2 separate regions of the Homo sapiens genome follow, and region 2 is linked to region 1. The links are contacts of gene promoters, found by promoter capture Hi-C in human tissues and cell types (Jung and others, 2019). All regions are on one chromosome and are shown on one strand. The core of a region is centred on a gene start or on the middle of the fragment in contact, and the rest is flanking DNA. Distances in the headings are between cores, read along the strand shown.

What was found. The method cuts DNA at HindIII sites, captures the fragments that hold promoters and counts their contacts. A contact is called where the count stands out against the background at its distance.
Region 2: a contact is called between a fragment that was not itself captured here and the fragment with the promoter of NLE1 in region 1, in 1 of the 25 tissues and cell types used here (ovary).

What each region holds. Positions count from the first base shown.
Region 1 is chr17:35,138,583-35,145,297 of GRCh38, forward strand. NLE1 (notchless homolog 1) reads right to left here and starts at 3,721. Exons shown (of 13, transcript NM_018096.5): 1 at 3,676-3,721; 2 at 3,397-3,540; 3 at 1,267-1,484; 4 at 653-732. The coding sequence starts at 3,693. RefSeq lists an enhancer at 3,152-4,029. The HindIII fragment of the contact is 6,679 bases long and covers 1,255-6,715 here.
Region 2 is chr17:35,103,764-35,106,896 of GRCh38, forward strand. It overlaps RAD51D (RAD51 paralog D), which reads right to left. Exons shown (of 10, transcript NM_002878.4): 6 at 2,623-2,718. It overlaps RAD51L3-RFFL (RAD51L3-RFFL readthrough), which reads right to left. Exons shown (of 7, transcript NR_037714.1): 2 at 2,623-2,718. Among named protein-coding and RNA genes, the nearest start is that of RAD51D, 15 kb to the right of the region's middle. The HindIII fragment of the contact is 7,239 bases long and covers 1-3,133 here.

The DNA.
Region 1 (6,715 bases), core at 2,471-4,970:
ACAAGCACACGCCACCATGCCCGGCTAATTTTTGTAGTTTTAGTAGAGATGGGGTTTCACTGTGTTGGCGAGGCTGGTCTCAAACTCCTGACCTCAAGTGATCTGCCTGCCTTGGCCTCCCGAAGTGCTGGGATTACAGGTGTGGGCCACCACGCCTGGCCAGCAATCTGCATTTTAACAAGCCCCTGAGGCGGGGCAATTCTGATTTGTGCTCAAGTTTGAAAACCACTGTGGCAGAGGCAGGATTTAAACCAGGTTCTCCTTGGTAGCAGTCAGTCAGCCTCTCACCATGTCCCATATTGACTCCTTGGTGCAGTTTCTGCTTGTGTCTAAGTGGCTGGCTGGGCTCAAGGACATGGTCTCTACCTAGGAACAGACAGCCGCCAACTGGATATTAAGGGGTTGTAATCTGCAAAGTGAGACCCTCATCTGTATGAAAACAAAAAACGAGCCAGGTGTGATGGCAAGTGCCTGTCATCCCAGCTACTCTGGAGGCTGAAGTAGGGGGACTGCTTGAACCCAGGAGTTCAAGGCTTGAGCCCAGGAGTTCAAGTGAGCTGTGACTGCACCACTGTACTCCATCCTGGTCAACAGAGCAAGACCTTGTCTCAAAAAAAAAGAAGACCCCCTAAATGGCTAATTGCATACTGACCCTTGCATGTGAAATGTGGTGTCTCTGTGCTGAGATCCCAGAAGCGCACGGTGGTGTCTCCAGAGCCACTGGCCAGGTACCTGGGGAAGAAGAGAGGATGCTTGACACTGCACATGTGCATTTGTGCCACCTATTCAATCACTTTCTGTGAATAGAATATGGAACTGGACTCTTTCCTCGCCCCTGGAAGGGAGAAAGACAATACTGATGCTGTCCTCTGGGAGAATACATCAGGAGGCCATTTCTTTCCTCTCCACAGCTATAACCAGCTTTTGAAGCTTCTCATTACCTTTCTAAGTTTGAGAGAAGCAACTAATCCCAGTTTCACAGATGAAAAATTAACTCGGAAAGGTTAAGTGATTTATACAAGTCACACAGCTCAGATCTTGAAAAATCAAGTCTAGGAGAGGTTTGTCCAAGGCAGGGGTCCTTAAGCAGCCTTTGGGGACCATGCCCTACTGAGGAAGTCCCTTAATTGCAAGCTGAGTCCAGAGCTTGGGTCTATGGTAGGCAGCCCTGAGGCCCCATCAATTATAACTCTGGGAGACCCTCCCCAAACCAGGCAAAGACTGCACCCCCACATACCCCCTCCATGAGTCTGCAGCTGTCCTTACTTTCCCGTAGGGCTGAAGGCCACAGAAATGACTGCCTCACTGTGACCCTCCAAGGAGCTGGTGCAGCGAGTCACAGCCCGGACTCTGAAGATAGCCTGTGGCTGGTAGATGATGTCTAGGACCTTCTCTGTCTCCACTGCCTGGGACTCCAACGTCTTCCCCAGTGAGGAGACGATCTCAGCATCGTGGACAAAGAAAGCCAGTGGCAGGGGATCCTCCTGAAGGACAATGGTAAAGGACAAACCCGCAACAATGGATGTGCAGGGGCACCCTCTGCCAGGGATGCTCCCCACTGAGCTGTGGGAGGTGAAGCTTCTTCTTTTCAGCCATCGTGCTAGGGATACCCCCATCATTGCCCATTGAGCAAGACCTTTTATTTATTTATTTATTTATTTTTGAGACAAGAGTCTCGCTCTGTCACCCAGGCTGGAGTGCAGTGGAGCAATCTCTGCTCACTGCAACCTCCGCGTCCTGGGTTCAAGAGATTCTCCTGCCTCAGCCTCCCGAGTAGCTGGGATTACAGGCACCCATCACCACGCCTGGCTAAGTTTTATATTTTTAGTAGATACGGGGTTTCGCCACATTGGCCAGGCTGGTCTCAAGCTCCTGACCTCAGGTGATCCACCTGCCTCGGCCTCCCAAAGTGCTGGGATTACAGGCGTGAGCCACTGTGCCCAGCCTAGCAAGACCTTTTAAGTCACTGAACAGCAGTTGCAGGACACTTACACAGCACTTGGAAATTCTTTTTTCTTTTTTTTTTGAGATGGAGTCTCGTTCTGTTACTCAGGCTGGAGTGCAGTGGTGAGATCTCAGCTCACTGCAACCTCTGCCTCCTGGGTTCAAGCAATTCTCCTGCTTCAGCCTCCCGAGGAGCTGGGACTACAGGCGCCTGCCACCACGCCTGGCTAATTTTTGTATTTTCAGTAGAGACTGTTTTCGCCATATTGGCTAAGCTGGTCTCGAACTCCTGACCTCTAGTGATCTGCCCACCTCAGCCTCCCAAAGTACTGGGATTACAGGCATAAGCCACTGCACCCGGCCTGAAATTCTTTATCTGCATCTCATAACAACCGTGGGAAGTAGATACTAATATTCCCACTGACAGTTTTCAAAAGCAGAGGCTCAGAACAACTAAGTAATTAGTTCAATGTCCTATTGCCAATGATTAATTCAGGTTCTTTACGTCCAAGATAGGATTAGCATATAGCATTATGCAGTGTTTCCCAAACTACCACACTACACTATATTTGTGTAAAAAGCTCCCAAAACGCCTGTTAAAAAATGTAGACTTTCTGCTTCATCCCAGAGTTTGGTTTAGTAAGGCTGGGATGGGGTCCAGGAACTGCAATTTTAAGGACCTCCCCTGTCCCCAGGGCAGCTCTTCAGTAAACACACTGGCTTAAAGGTTAAAAGCAAAGGCCGGGTGCGGTGGCTCACGCCAGTAATCCCCAGCACTTTGGAGGCCAAGGCGGGAGGATCACGAGGTCAAGAGATCGAGACCATCCTGGCCAACGTGGTGAAACCCAGTCCCCACTAAAAATACAAAAATTAGCTGGGTGTGGTGGCGCGCGCCTGTAGTCCCAGCTACTCGGGAGGCTGAGGCAGGAGAATCGCTTGAACCTGGGAGGCAGAGATTGCAGTGAGCAGAGATCACGCCACTACACTCCAGCTTGCCAGCCTGGCGACAAAGTGAGACTCCGTCTCAAAAAAAAAAAAAAAAAAGGTAAATAAATAAATAAATAAAAGCATGGGTATTCGGATAGTTTTGGGTTCCAATTCCAAATCTGCTACCTACTACATAGCATCGTGCAAAATACTGAGTCCCTCCGGGCCACGCTGTAAAATGGGGATATTAACGTGTCCCAGACTGGGGGACTGTGACAAAGAATCAATGAAATACAGCATCCGGTGCGTTCAAAGCTAGGCCCCTCTCCGCAGGTGGACCCCTTTGGTTGGCGTGTAAAGCGCTATGCCACTGATTCCATCTCTGACATAGGTGGGAGCTCACGCCAGGTGGGTCACCACAGTCCGTTAGCGGGGGACCATGAACCGCAGACCCTCGGTAATATGATTCCCCCACCGCATCCGCCCGGGGGTGGAGATGCGAGGCCGCCCTGGCCAGCCACTTACCTGGGCCAGTAGCGCGTTGCACACGAGCTGCAGCCTGTCCGGGGTGATGTCCACGGGCACGTCGAACGGGGAACCCAGCAGCTGCCCGCCCTCATCCTGGAACTGCACTAGCAACCGCTGCACATCGCGCGCCACCGCCTCGTCCTGCGCGAGCAAGTGGGGCGGGAGTCAGTCTGGTCGCCCGCCCAGAAGGGCCCCACTTCGCCTCTCTCAGGCCTCAGGGACCCGGGCCCTAGCGCCCCGCGGCGACGCCCCCCGCCCCCATCCACGCACACCCACCGGCACTGCTGCCGCCATCCTGCGTCCCCACGTGGAGGAGAAAGAGCCCGGCAGACAGAGCGCCGTCTCCGTGGTCGGGCGGGGTCGCCGCCGGCCACATCGCCCTCTGCTGTTGGGGAGGAGAAGCGTCCCGCTGCGCACGGCCTCAGGGATTAGAAATGGGCTTACCTGGTGCTCCTCCCGCCCCTCAACAGCCTTCACATTTATTTTTCGCCAGGGTCTTAGAGGACACAGTAAACTTTTGACTCTTCACAACAGGGATTCTTGCCCCATTTTAATTTAATTTCATTTTGAGACAGAGTTTCACTCCGTCGCCCAGACTGGAGGGCAGTGGTGCCACCACGGCTCACTGCAGTCTCGAACTTTCTGGCACAGCGATCCTCCCACCTCAGCCTCAGAGTAGCCTGGACTACAGGCACATGACACCCTGCCCGGTTATTTTTTTCTCATTTTTTGTAGAGACGAGGTCTCACTATGTTGCCCAGGCTGGTCTCAAACTCCTGAACTCAAGCAGCAAGTCCCCCACTCCCCAGCCTCAGTGTCCCAAAGTGCTGGGATTACAGGTGTGAGCCACCACGCCTAGCCTAGAAATTAGTATCCTTTTAAAAATGGATCAAGTCAAGGCTGGGCGTGGTGGCTGACACCTGTAATCCCAGCGCTTTGGAAGGCCCAGGCGAGCAGATCACTTGAGTCCAGGAGTTCGAGACCAGCCTGGCCAACATGGTGAAACCAGGTCTCTACTAAAAATACAAAAAAATTAACCAGCCGTGGTGGCATGCGCCTGTGGTCATAGCTACTGGAGAGGCTGAGGTGGTAGATTCTCTTGAACCTGGGAGGCAGAGGTTGCAGTGAGCCGAGCTCTCACCACTGCACTCCAGCCTGGATGACAGAGCAAGACTCTGTCTCAATAAATAAATAAATAAATAAATAAATAAATAAATAAATAAATAAATAAAATGGATCAACTCAATAATACTCGAGTACAAAAGCAAATCATTTCTACAATCATCAATGCTGTAAAGCAATAATAGTGATAATGACATCAACAAGTCAGGAATTGTTCTAAGTGCTTTCCCACATAACTCATTTAATTCTTACAACCCTTTTCTCCCCATATTACTGAGGAACTGAAGCAGACAGCAATGAACTTGAGCTCTTTTGCCTGAAACGAAGGATCTCCCTTGCCAACTCTCCTCTCTCTCCCTCCACTGCTCAGGCAGTCTCAAGCTCTGCCAAGTCATCCTCATGAACACAGCTTGAATCTGCTCTCCCCATCTCCACTGCCTCACTCTGGTCAGAGTCACCATCATCACCTGCCTGGACCGCTACAACAGCCTCCCGATGAGCCCCCCCATTTCCATTCCTGCCTCTTTCTACCCATTCTCCACGATGCAGCCAGGGTTATCTTTTCAGACCAAAAATCTGGCCTGCTGCTCTTCACCCTCAAACCCTGCGACGGCTCCCTTACATGCAGGAAAAAAAGAACACTCCTTATAATGGTCAATTCAGCCTTGCTATGTCCAGCCACCCCTCTCTTTAGGTTAAATCTTGCTGGCTTTTTCTGAGTTCTTACAAGGCATGGCTCTTCCTGCATCAGTGATTTTGCCCATGCAGTTTTTTCTGTCTGGAACTGTTATGGAGTGAATTGTGCCCTTCCCCTAATTCAAGCTTGTCCAACCCCTGGGCCACAGGCTGCATGCAGCCCAGGATGGCTTTGAATGCAGCCCAACACAAATTCGTAAGCTTTCTTAAAACATTATGAGATTTTCTTTCGATTTTTTTTTTCAGCTCATCAGCTATCATTAGTGTATTTTATGTGTAGCCCAAGGCAATTCTTTTTCCACTGTGGCCCAGAGAAGCCAAAAGATTGGACGCCTCTGCCCTAATTTATATATTGAAGCCCTAGCTCTGAATGTGGCTGTATTTGGAGATAGCATATATTATTATTATTGTTTTTTTTTTTTTTTTTTAGAGACAGGGTCTCACTCTGTTGCCCAGACTAGAGTGTAGTAGTGTGATCATAGCTCACACAGCTTCAAACTCCCAGGCTCAAGTGCTCTTCTTACCTTAGTGTTCTGAGTAGCTAGGACAACAGGTGTGTGCCACTATACCTGACACTCGGCTAACTTTTAAAAATTTTTGTAGAGACAAGGCTGTCACTCTGTTGCCTAAGCTGGTCTCGAACTCTTGGCCTCAAATGATCTTCCTGTCTTAGGCCTTCCAAAGTGCTGGGATTACAGGTGTAAGCCACCATGCCTGGCCTGGAGATGGGCCCTGAAAGGACATAGGAAGGGTTAATAAGTGAGTTTGTATGGGTAGGACACTAATCAGATAGAACTGGTGCCCTTGTGAAATGAGGAGACTCCAGAGTACTCTCTCTCTGTCTCTCCCCGCCCCCCGCACTGCCTCCCTGAGCACACACAAAGATGAGGCCATAGTAGGACACAGTGAGAAGGTGGCTGTTTGCATCCAGGAAGAGAGGCCTCACCAGAAACCAACCCTCATGGCACCTTGACCTTGGATTTCTCTACTCCAGAGCTGTGAGAAAATAAATTTCTGTTGTTGAAGCCTCCCTGTCTGTGCTATTTTGTTATGGTAGCCAGAGCCAACTAATACAGGAATAGTTCCTCATTCTTCAGGTCTTGCCTTGAATATTTATTCATTCATCCAATAAATGTATTGAGTGCCTACTCTCTGCCAGACGTTGTCGGAGTTCTATGTGTATCAACTCATTTATCACTTACGCAGGGAAACCTTTGAAATGATGTCATATGATGTCATATTTCCCTGTTGTATGTTTTCAAAACATCCTGGTATTCCTCACATTTAGAAATCACAGATCCAGCTGGCACAGTGGCTCACACCTGTAATCTCAGCACTTTGGGAGGCCGAGGTGGGAGTATCACTTGAGCCCAGGAGTTTGAGACCAGACTGGGCAACATGGTGAGATCATGTCTCTACAAAAAAAATAGCCAGGTGGCATGCACCTATAGTCCCAGCTACTCAGGAGGCTGAGATGGGTGAATTGCTTGAACCTGGG
Region 2 (3,133 bases), core at 634-3,133, 37 kb before region 1:
TTAAATCACAGGACATCAAAACTACACTAAAGTGGCTGGGCGCAGTGGCTCACGCCTGTAATCCCAGCACTTTGGGAGGCCAAGGCGGTGGATCACTTGAGGTCAGGAGTTCGAGACCAGCCTGGCCAACATGGTGAAACCCCGTCTCCACTAAACATACAAAAATTAGCTGGGCGTGGTGGTGCACACCTGTAATCCCAGCTACTCAGGAGGCTGAGGCAGGAGAATCGCTTGAAACTGGGAGGCGGGGGTTGCAGTGAACTGAGATCACACCGCTGCATTCCAGCCTGGGCGACAGAGCAAGACTCTGTCTCAAAAAAAATAAAATAAAATAACTAAAAACTACATTAAAGTCATCAAATTTCAGAAAGCTCCGCAGAGAGTCCTGAGGCCTCTGGTCATGGATCTCTCAGCAGCCATCTCTCTCCTGTGTCCAGCCTCCCACCATGGTGGTAAGGCCCTTCTTTTCCTTTTCTGACTCCCTCCTTTCTTTCCCTTGTCCTGCTAACTACCACCCTCAAATTCCTAACTTCCTTTGCTGAAGAGTTTAGCCTTCTCTTTACTTCACTGTCTCCTTCTAGATCATGCCTCTAGGCCTCATCTTCCGTATCTAAAATGCCTCCAAATAAATTCCCTAAGTCTTGCTCTGTCACCCAGGCTGGAGTGCAGTGGCATGATCTCAGCTAACTGCAACCTCTGCCTCCTCGGTTCAAACGATTCTCATGCCTCAGCTTCCTAAGTAGCTGTGACTATGGGTGCACACATTGGGTGCACACTACGGGTGCTAATTTTTGTATTTTTAGCAGAGACGGGGTTTTACCGTGTTGGCCAGGCTGGTCTCGAAATCCGGCCTCAAGTGATCTGGCCACTTTGGCCTCCCAAAATGCCAGGATTACAGGCATGAGCCACCAAGCCTAGCCTGTGCCATCTTTCTAACCATAATTTTCTGTCTTTACACAAGCAGGAGAATCCTCCTGGTTTCCCTGGACTTAAACTGTTTTTGATGCTTCTTTTCTCTTCTCCCTTACTTCTTATATCCTGATTCTGGTTCTTTTTCTTTTCTTCTTTCTTTTTCTTTTTTTTTTTTTTAAGACAGGGTCTTGCTATGCTGCCCAGGCTGGTCCTGAACTCCTGGGCTCAAGTGATCCTCCTGCCTTGGCCTTCCAAAGCATTGGGATTTTAGGCGTGAGCCACCGCTCCTAGTCTCAGATTCTTAACCCCTAGAAACTGTGAGATAAGAAATACTATGTCTTAAGCCACTAAGGTTTTGGTAACTTATTATGCAATAATAGAAGATATATCATCTAATGGTCCTACAGTAAAAAATACAGTCTTCTGATCTGGAATTGAGAGGTTTGGGCTATAAGGTTAGTTCTTGCCCTAAATATTTGGTCAACTTTGGTCAACTCACTTCACTTCTCCGGCCTTCACTCTTCTCATCTCTAAAAGTGAGGTAAGCACTACTCAGCTTCATGTCTCAACAAGCTGGTGGGTCATAACCAGCTATGACTTCTGAGGTAAGTATTTGTTCAACATTTTTTTTTAAAGACGGGGTCTAGCTCTGCTGACCAGGCTAAGGTACAGTGGTATGATCATAGCTCACTGCAACCTCCAACTGCTAGGCTCAAGCAATCCTCCCGTCTCAGCCTCTGGAGTCATTAGGATTACAGGTGTGGGCCACCACTCCCAGCTTGTTCAACTATTATATGTTCTAAAGTTTGTAAAAATCATTGACTTTATATATAGTCGTGGGGATGCCCGTGTGAACACGTCATGCTTTGGGGTGAGAGGAAAAGTTTGAGATAAACTATTCTATCTTTAAGGTATCCTCCACATCTAGTCATTTATAAATCAGTGCACCAAATCCTGTCTAAGCACCCAACATGAGTAGCAAAGTGCCAACCCAAATGCCATTCTAAATCCTTCCCATTAACATGACTCTGAATGTGTTCAGCGACTGGGCAGAAATCTGACTTCAGGGATGGTGGGCCCAGGTCTTAGTCCAAGATACACACATAACCCCATTTTGGCCAACTAGATGTAAGGGGAAGAGGGACGTCTATTAGTGGGCTCTGGAGAAAGATTCTTCATCCCTGATAAAAGGGAGGAGGTACAGAAAAGAACCATCTATCTTTTACTGCCTTGAATATGGATGTGGATGTGTGAAGACAAGATGCTTGGAGCTTTGGCAGCCTCTTTGCAACCATGAGGGGAAGAACAAGAAAATCAGACACACAAATCTATTGCCCTGATAGCATGGACCTGCCAACCTCCCAACTCATGTGACATAATTAAATGTCCTCAAGCTTCAAGTCTCTGTCAGACAACCTCTATTACTTGCAGCTAAAAGTATTCCTCACTCACCTAGTGGGGAATGCAGACATAAATATGACATGATCCTTCCACTCAGGGGGCTTTACTGTTCAGCAGGGAAGATGAACATGTAAACAATGAGGTATGTGATTTAGGTGCTCGGGAATTCCATCCTGGGAGTAGCAAGCATAGTTGGAGTCACCAGATTGCACATCTGCATTTCCAAACAGTCTGTAGTAGGACACCTGCCCACAGAGATAGCACCTAGAAAGCTGAATTAAGCAAGGAGGGGCAGAACAGCAGGCTCACCTGCTGGGCCACAGTGCCTCGGAGCTCCTGCAGCACATCCAGCATCTGGAAGATGTCAAATGCATGCACCACCTGGATCCTCCGGAGAGCTTCTGCCTGAAGCGGTGGAAAAGAAAAGCAAGGACTTTGGATAAGAGGGAGTAGGGGGGTCAAGGTAAGGCTGAGAAGGAAGAGGCACCTGGATGCAAGGACTCAGGTCCAGGGTGGCAAATGAGCTTTGTCTAATGGTCAGTTGTCACAGTGGTGGCTGCCTGGGTGCTGAGCTGTAAAGTACTCAGAACTCAGCAGGAAAGAGGGATATGACTGATTAGTGATGTCTCTCACAGGTGAGAAATGGACTGGAAACACAAAGCTTGGTGTTTGCCAGCCCTGGTTTAGGGCATGCAAAGAGTTGGGAGGGTTTCCTGGAAGAATCAGTGTGAGTAGCATCCCAAATGGGATGATGGCATCAACAGGGGTGGCTTAAGGAATACGAGATGTATTAATAGAACAGCAAGTTTGAAGGCAAGGA